2 separate regions of the Homo sapiens genome follow, and region 1 is linked to region 2. The links are contacts of gene promoters, found by promoter capture Hi-C in blood cells and fetal thymus (Javierre and others, 2016). All regions are on one chromosome and are shown on one strand. The core of a region is centred on a gene start or on the middle of the fragment in contact, and the rest is flanking DNA. Distances in the headings are between cores, read along the strand shown. Region 1 has its middle 280 kb from the start of SNORD151. Region 2 holds the start of RAMP3 (receptor activity modifying protein 3).

The links. Contacts are between HindIII fragments. The CHiCAGO score rates a contact against its expected background, and 5 or more counts as called.
Region 1: a fragment that was not itself captured here is called in contact with the fragment with the promoter of RAMP3 in region 2 in 1 of 17 cell types (M1 macrophages); the score reaches 6.6 in M1 macrophages.

The regions. Positions count from the first base shown.
Region 1 is chr7:47,180,427-47,184,401 of GRCh38, reverse strand. No RefSeq gene overlaps it. Among named protein-coding and RNA genes, the nearest start is that of SNORD151, 280 kb to the left of the region's middle. The HindIII fragment of the contact is 1,284 bases long and covers 1,068-2,351 here.
Region 2 is chr7:45,155,398-45,159,489 of GRCh38, reverse strand. It overlaps RAMP3 (receptor activity modifying protein 3), which reads right to left and starts at 1,699. Exons shown (of 3, transcript NM_005856.3): 1 at 1,604-1,699. The coding sequence starts at 1,661. The HindIII fragment of the contact is 23,160 bases long and covers 970-4,092 here.

The DNA.
Region 1 (3,975 bases), core at 460-2,959, 2.0 Mb before region 2:
CCGTCTCCCAAGCACATGGGCACTTGTCTCTTTTGGGTGGAATGACTGTGTTGTAGAGTCTGTATATGCTCTGTTCTGTTAAATTTTGTCAAATTGATTTTCCAGGTGGTTGGGCCACGTTACCTTCCAGTTGGAAGTGTAGGGGGGTTTCCACTGCTCCACATCCTCACCAATGCTTGGTTTCTTATTTTTTATATTTTGCCAGTTTGATGGTTCAAAGGGGCACTGGATCGTGGTTCTAGTTTACATTTCTCTGGTACTGACGAGCCCCTTGGGGATAACTGGAGAGACGCTGAGTGACAGCGGTGGTCAGAACTGGATTCTGTAGGACGGGGTGGGGAGGAGTAGAAGGCTGCAGTGGCGGGGGGTGGGGCAGACGTGGGTCTGGCGCACATTCTTTCTGCTTTTTTCTCATTTGTATTGGTTCCAAGTTCAGTCTCAGAAGAATCACATCAATTCTGACTTGTAATTCTAGAGATCTCTATTTTCCAGAAATTTTCTATGAGAATCTTTGAAGCTTGAGGGCTGTGATTTTTCTCCAGGATGAAGGTTAAACCCTGTAAATGTGCAGAACGTTCTCCTAACAACCCATTCCAGTAAATGGTGCATGACAGGTGTGTAGGGCACTGTGGGTGAGGCTGAAGCATCACCCCAGATGCAGGGGTACATTCCTAGGAGCACAGACATGTGAACATGCTTCACCCTCCACATCTGACCCTGGGACTCACCCACTTCTCTCTACTCCCACTGCTCCCCTGGTCAGATGGCCCATTAGAAGGCTCAGGGAATGGTACCTTACTTTCATATAAAGCTGCCTTTACTGAATTTGCATATATTAATGATAGTATTCCAGCTTGACTGAAGCTGGGTGTGAGGTTTGTGTCTCATGGAATTGTTCTGGGAACTTCCCAGAAGGCATGTGAACTCTCTGACAACATTATAGGTACTCAATAAAGAGTAGCTAGTATCAATTTGCCATGTCTAATTGAACAAATACTATGACTAATTAACATGCTAAATGCAGGAGGTATGGTGATAAATAAAACAGTGCCTTGTCCCCTGAAGCTTACATTCTACTAGGGGAGACAGCTGCACACGTGAAACATATGAAGACATAAGGCAGTTTCAGATAGTGGCCCTTCCAACAGGGAGAGCCAGGTGGCAGAGTGAAAAGGAGAGGAGACAGAGCATTCCAGACAGAGGCAGAAATACCTGCAAATGCTCCCTGGTTATGAGCTCTGTGTGTTCTGGCAACAAGAGAAGTCAGGCAACTGCAGTGATGGTGAAGGTTAAAGGTCATAGAGATGTGAGGCTCCACCAATCCCAGGTGTGGGCCAAGGCACAGAGAGGGGAATGCTCTCTGTTTGTGTCTTATATCAGCATTTTGTGATAGGGTTCAAAGTTATACTCTCTGAGGGCTCCCACTTCCAGATCTAACAATACGGTAGATGCTGGGGAGGCTTAGGGTCTTCCTTGCTCCAACCCAGCCTGGGCAGGAAGAAACTTTTGATGCCTGCCATGGGGCAACATTAGCAGCCTCAGCTCACTCCAGCTCTTGTCCGGTATCTCTACTTGCATCCCATCAGTGGGACCCCAAACAGCTCTGGGGACCCCAGGGTGCAGGAACGATGCCCATCATCATGCTGGGCACCATGCTGTGCTATGGAGACCCTGTTGTCACAGAAGTAAACCATTGCCCAGTGGAGGAGGCCTACCCCTTTCCTCTTCCTGTACCATCACTCAGTGTCTGTGGTCCCCACCCCTGGCCTGGGGTTCCAGTGAGTCGTGGGTAATACTGGGCACACATTTATGAGTGTTTCTTACATGTGAATGCCATATGTGCCCCAGTGGAAAAAAAAATAAGGACTCATTTAAGTTTTTTATTATTTGGATCTTTTCCTGACACCTGAATGATGAGCATTGGAATGTTCTCACCAAATTTGTGTTATATAAGGACTACTTCTTGAATGTAAGATTTCAAAGGATGCTGAATTAGAACTTTGGCAATAGCAAAATACTTTTTTCCAAACCATCCCAAACTCTCCATGGATGGTGGCTTGTTTCCAATTTGGAATGGCTTCAGTTGAAGATGTTTTTTGCATTGGTCTTTGTGTTCACAGTCCCTGGTGAAGGGGCTGATAGGCTTAAAAGCAGCATTTGGGGAGAGAGAGAGACACACACAGAAGGAGAGAGGTAGGAGGGAGAGAGGCAGAGCGAGCAAGAGAGAGCTGTACTGTGTTCTTTCTCAGAAAGTACCTGGCAGGCTGGAAGCAGCTCATGTGCCAATATTTGAAAACTATAAATAGAGTCCTTTGGGATTGGCTTACATGAATTGGTAGGAATGCCAAGCTTGGGAAGCTGCTGGGGCATGGTGGGGGGAGAGCAGGGAACAGTGTGCTATTCCTAGGACAGGTAACGCCTCTCTTTAGTGTAGTGGGGAGGGCCCTAGGCGGACTGCAGAGAGGAGGAGCTGAGGTACAGGTGCACTGTCAGGTCAGACATGTGAGCAAGTTGGTGAGAAAATTCATTTGTTCAGCTTCATACTTGGGAAGCAGCTGTAGCATTCAGGGTGGGAATTCTCAGTCCTGCTGCAGCTGCAGCACTCAGGGAAGGACTCTGGGGCCGGGCTGGGACAGGGCTGAGCAGGGAGCTGGATTGAGGGAAGTTTGAAATCACGGATCTAGCTAACTCTTCTAATTTGATGATGGGGAGACTGAGGCTTGGCCCTTTGTTCTTTTTCCTGCACCACTGCCAATCTTTCATGGGGTAAAGACCAATTTTAATGCAGTTCACTGAGATTCTTCTGCCCATCTGTGGAGGAGGTTGGTTGGGGGGCCTGGACACAGGAAGACTGCCGTCCTCAGCTCCCCTAAAAGCCACTGCAGCACGGGATGCCTGGACTGGCTTCTCTCCAGCTTCATCTCAGAAGATAAAATGTCAAACTCAGAGCTATCCCACGCTTGTCAAAATGCGTCGCAAAGAAAACTCACGGAGACAAGCACCTAGGCATTTGCTAGTGTTCAATACTGTTCATTTGGTCCCAGCCTTAAGCCACATCATCAGAGTGCTCTGGGGACCACATGGCTTTCTTTTATTGCAGTACTTTTCCTGAATGCTCCTAAAATGTAATGTACATTGCAGGGACATTCTAAGACAGAGCCCTGTAAAATGCATGACTTTGCTCGCCATGAGGACATCGGTGAGGCTGTCCTTGACTACGCTACATCATGATCTCTGTATAAAGACCTCAGGGAGAAACCTCTGACCTCTCTTTGACTTGCTGTGTTTCTCCTTGGGCAGCCAGCTAACCTTTATACTGCAGACTCAGGAAATGGTGCCACTGATTCCGTGTCCCTTGATGCACTGGTTATACAATCTCACAGCCCAATATGCCCCCTCTTCTCTGCAAGTGCATGGTTATACCTACTTGTGGTCTTCATCCTTTTTTTTCCTTCCTGGCCATTGTGAGTCTGTCCATCTATGTGAGAGCTCTGGGTTCATCCTGAGCCATCCTGGTGAGGACGGAGAGTGTTTGGAGCTTAGGTCCCACCACCAACCTTCTTCCCTTTCTTTCTCTCTTTTTCTTCCTTGCGACCCTTCTAGCATCTCACTTCCTTCCTTGCCTAAGAATCTCATCCTCTAACTGCCTCTGACTCACTCTGGGATGATCAAGCATCTTTGGGATCTAATAGTCCAAGGTCCCAGTCCCAGTTCTATTGCTTATTACTTGGGTAACTCTGTATTTGTGGTTTAGCCTCGCTGAGCCTTAACTTTCTGCCAAATGAGGTAGACATAACCCTACTGAGGGCTAACACAGGGGAAAGCCGTAACCATGGCTGATCCATTATGGTTGCATCAGAAAAGCCAATTTCCTTGTCAATCAATGCCAAAAGCACTCCCTTCTGCATTAATCAGACCCCATCTGCCCTGCAATTTGTTTCTTAGAATTCAGAACAAAACAAAACGAAGCACAGA
Region 2 (4,092 bases), core at 450-2,949:
AAAAGGTCTGGAATTCTCAAAGAAGCCCCAGAGGCCTGCACCCTCCCTGCTGGTCCTCCTGAGCTAGTCCTCAGTCAAGAGGAACCCACCCAGCTCCTTCCTTCCAGACACAGCAGCATCCAGGGCAGATGTGGGTTCCAGTCCCGGATACCTCTGACACATCGGCCTGGGACCATGAGCAAGTTTTACCTCTCCCTGAATCTCACTCTGGCCAGTCGAACACTGGGAGGGTCTGCTGAGAAGCTGGACCTGGTCCCTATTCTGGCCAGGGAGCGTGAACCCATGTCCCATTGGAGGGGGACAGTCAGGACCAACACAACAGGACAAAGAAGTGGCCCTCAGGAACTGGGTCCACGAGAGACAGGATTATTAAGGGGGGATTCTGTGCAGGCGGAAGCCTGTGGTCCTTCTCAATTTGATACTGGAGATGATCAGGAAAGCCTCAGCTTCTCCCAGAATGAATTGAGAGGACCTTCCTTCCACTATAGCGACCAAGATCTCCACCTAAGGGGCGCTCACTGGAAGTTTGCTGAAATCCCAAATCAGCATGCTCCTGATTTCAGAAGCTGCCATCCACCTTTGCACTTCAACACAAAATCCACCACATCCTAGGCTCCAGCCCTGGAACACCAAATGAAGCCACACAAGTTCTGCACACCAAGACCTCTTCAATGGAAGGAAAATGACCACTGAGTTTGGTCCACCCTTTTCCCACCTCCCGTACCAAATCCCAAATCATCAAAACAGGCCCAACTCTGCATCTTACAGCCAGGGAAACTGGGGACCACCAGGCCAGGGCCCTCCATCACCAATGTCCCCCCCAGAACTGGCCAGGCTCAGTCACCACTCAGTGGACCCCAGCCCTCAGCAAGCACTCTTCCCCAACAGCCTTTACACACATTCTCTCTCTCTCTCTCTCTCTTACTTTTTCTTGGATAATTTCTTTAGCAAGGTACTTCAAAACAAGCTTTTAGTTTAATCTATTTCCATTTTGTGAGCAATGGTTCTTCCTAGAGTCCTGATTTCTTGCCGAAGAAGGCATTAGGAGAGGATGGCTCAGAGAGTCGCCCCGCTTCCCCTCTCAGCCAGTTCCAGGACACACACAGGCGTCCACACACTGAGGGGCCCTGGGAGGACCAGCTACCCAGTCCGGAGTCCACCCGCCCACGCCCCTGTGAGTGGTGGGCAGGCACTCAATGCCAGGACAGAGAGCTCACTACCTTACAGACAGCCCACCCTGGGGGATAAGGGGTAAAGAGCCAGACCTGGTCCACCTCTTCTCGCCCACCCTGAGGCGACCCCAGAACCGGGGCGTGGGGGGACATCACAACTAGAAGGACCGGGGGCTGCCGGACCCTGCCGTCAGAAGACCCCGGAGGGGGCCCTGTGCCTCCCTTGCCCGCCAGAGTCCTTCGCCTTCAGCTTCTCCCGGGTGGAACCCTCCCGCAGAGCCTGGGAATCCCGCCAGGGTCACTGTGCGCCCCTCCCGAGCTCCGGGGCAAGGGAAGGACCGCGGCGCAGGTGCGGGAAGGCGCGGGTCCACCCGGGTCCGGTGAACCCCGAGGAGTGGGGGCGCCCCCGGTGCGGGCCGTCGCCCCCTTACCGCAGAGCAGCAGCAGCAACGGGAGAAGTTGCGGGCGCCGCAGCGCTCCAGTCTCCATGGCTGGCCGGCCGCAGCTGGGTCACGCTCGGTCCCGCTGGGGGCGCGGCTGGGGGACGCCCGGTTGGGGTTGGGGTGGGGCGGGGCCTCAGGGGGTCCGCCCTCAGGCCGCACCCCCAGACCACGCCTGCGGCCGTGCCCCGTTGCCTCCAGATGTGGGGTGCAGTCCCTGCAGGCGCGCCGGGTGGGAGGGATGGGGGCGGCTGGAGTCTCAGCGGGGTGAGAGGGGGGCGAGGGCAGGGTTTCGAGCTGGGGACAAGCTGGGGTAAGGTGGGGTGCCGGCTGATGGGCTCTGAGGGCGGGGCTGGGGTGCTGAGCTGCAAAGGAGCTTTTTGGGAGCAGATTGTAGGGGCAGACTGGGAGGTGAGCTGGGGTGAGCGTGGGGGCCGGCTGACGGTGGGCTGGGATGCAGGCTGGAGAGACTTGGGGAACTTCCGTCCAGGCTCAGGGGCAGAGGGTGGGGGTAGACCGGGGAGGGAGCTGAGGTGAGGATGAAGCGCTGGCTGATGATGGCCTAGAGGAGTCTGGGGGTAGACTGGAGGAAGGTGGACCTGGGAGTGGGCTAGGTGTGCCCTGGCCGAAAGTAGACCAGAGTCCAGAGCTGCCCCCAGGCAGGGAGGGGAACTTTGAGCAGAGATACATCTAGGAGCCAGGTCTCCAAAGGTCAGGAAAGTGCATAAAAGAGGTTGGGGGGTGTGTGTGTGTGCGTCTGTGTGTGTGCGTGTGTGTGTTGTTCATGGAGTACGTGTGTGTGATGTGCATGTGGGGTGTGTGTAGATGCATGTGTGTGCATGGAGTGTGTGATGTATGGTGTGTGTGTGGCATGTGTGTGTTTGAGTCTGAGACAAGGTGTGTTTGTGAGTGTATGCTTGGGAAACAGTGTGTATGAGAGAGACTGGAGGGTGTGGCAACTACACACACAGAGACGTATCACACACCAAGAACCAAGCCACAAGCAAACCAAGGGACAGGAGAGTATCTGGCACCACCAAAGACCTGGCCTTGAAGAGTGTCAGGGTCCCTGAGGCGAAGGAGGGCCTCAGTTTCTCCAGCCACAGGTCACTTGGCCAGATGGGTCACCTCTGTCACCCTCAGCCCCTAGCACAGGCCCTGGCTCCAGTGGACACTTAATGGTGTCTTAAGAATTGTCACTGGTCAGGACTTCCGAGAGCCAGCTAGAGGCACCTCTCTGCCCTCCAGGGCCCACCCACCACCCCTGGGGGCACATGCTGGTCTGAGGTTGGGGCACAGGCCCAGGCTCCTACATGGATGGGCCCTCCACTCCTCTGAGCCGTAGGTACTGCTACCTTCCCAGGAGCTGAGCTGAACTTCTCCTGGCTTAGAAAGACCCACTTTATTTAACAAGACCCTTATTCGGGAGAAGAACTTTCTGTGCTTTTTTACTGAAGAAATTCTGATTACAGCCAGAATTAATTCAAAGGAGTCAAAACTAATTAAAATTGATCATTTGTCCTGCCTTCTGCCTGAGGGGTGGGCAGCAGGTGTAGGGGTGGCCACAGAGCCTCTAGTGAGACTGATGGTGCCCACAGCCAGGCCTTCTGCCCACAGGCCAGGGGTCATAAAACAAGCTGACCAGGGCAGCAGGGGGCTGGCTTACACACACGCACACCCTACACCAGCCAAGACAAACCAAGAGGATGGTCCAGGCCCAGGTGTCCACCCACATCCCACACAGACTCGGCCCTACAGCTCTCTCCAGGAGAGTCTTAGTCTCCACTCGGTCCCACAGCCCCAAAGGCGGTTGCACATAGCTTGCAGGCTGGAACAGTAGGATGGGGTTGTCAGGTGGGAGGGGGGCAGCCAGTTCCCCCAAGCCTGCACCAGGGAGCAATGCTCCCTTTCCTGGACTCCCCACCCTGGCTCTGCAGTGGGGAAGCCCTGGCCATTCTACAGAGTTGGGTTCCAACACCTCTCCTCCATGGAACCAACCATGCCCCAACAAACTCCCAGGGAGTTGTGTCTACTGCCCCTAGGTCCCTCTAAGGCAGGGCCCTCACTTCTCCTCTCTGTGCCCAGTGGTGCCCATGGCCTCTGCAGGGCAGGTGGGTTTAACACAGGCTGTGAGGAGCTGAGCCATGGGAGAGAGGGACCTGCCCCTTCCACGGTGCATCCCCCCGACCCTGAGTGTGGAAAGGCTGCCGCCATAAATGAGATTGACCATGGGGTGTGCCCTGGACAGCACCTGTCTCCCTGCTTGTCCCTCGGTGGGTGCTGGCCCCGGCACCATTCCCTGTGTCTGCGATCCTGTGTGCACTGGGGTCCTCTCAGGAATCCCCTCTTAGCGTTCATAATTATTTATTTATTTTATTTATTTATTTATTTATTTATTTATATTTTTTTTAGAAGGAGTTTCATTGTTATTGCCCAGGCTGGAGTGCAATGGCATGATCTTGGCTCACTGCAACCTCTGC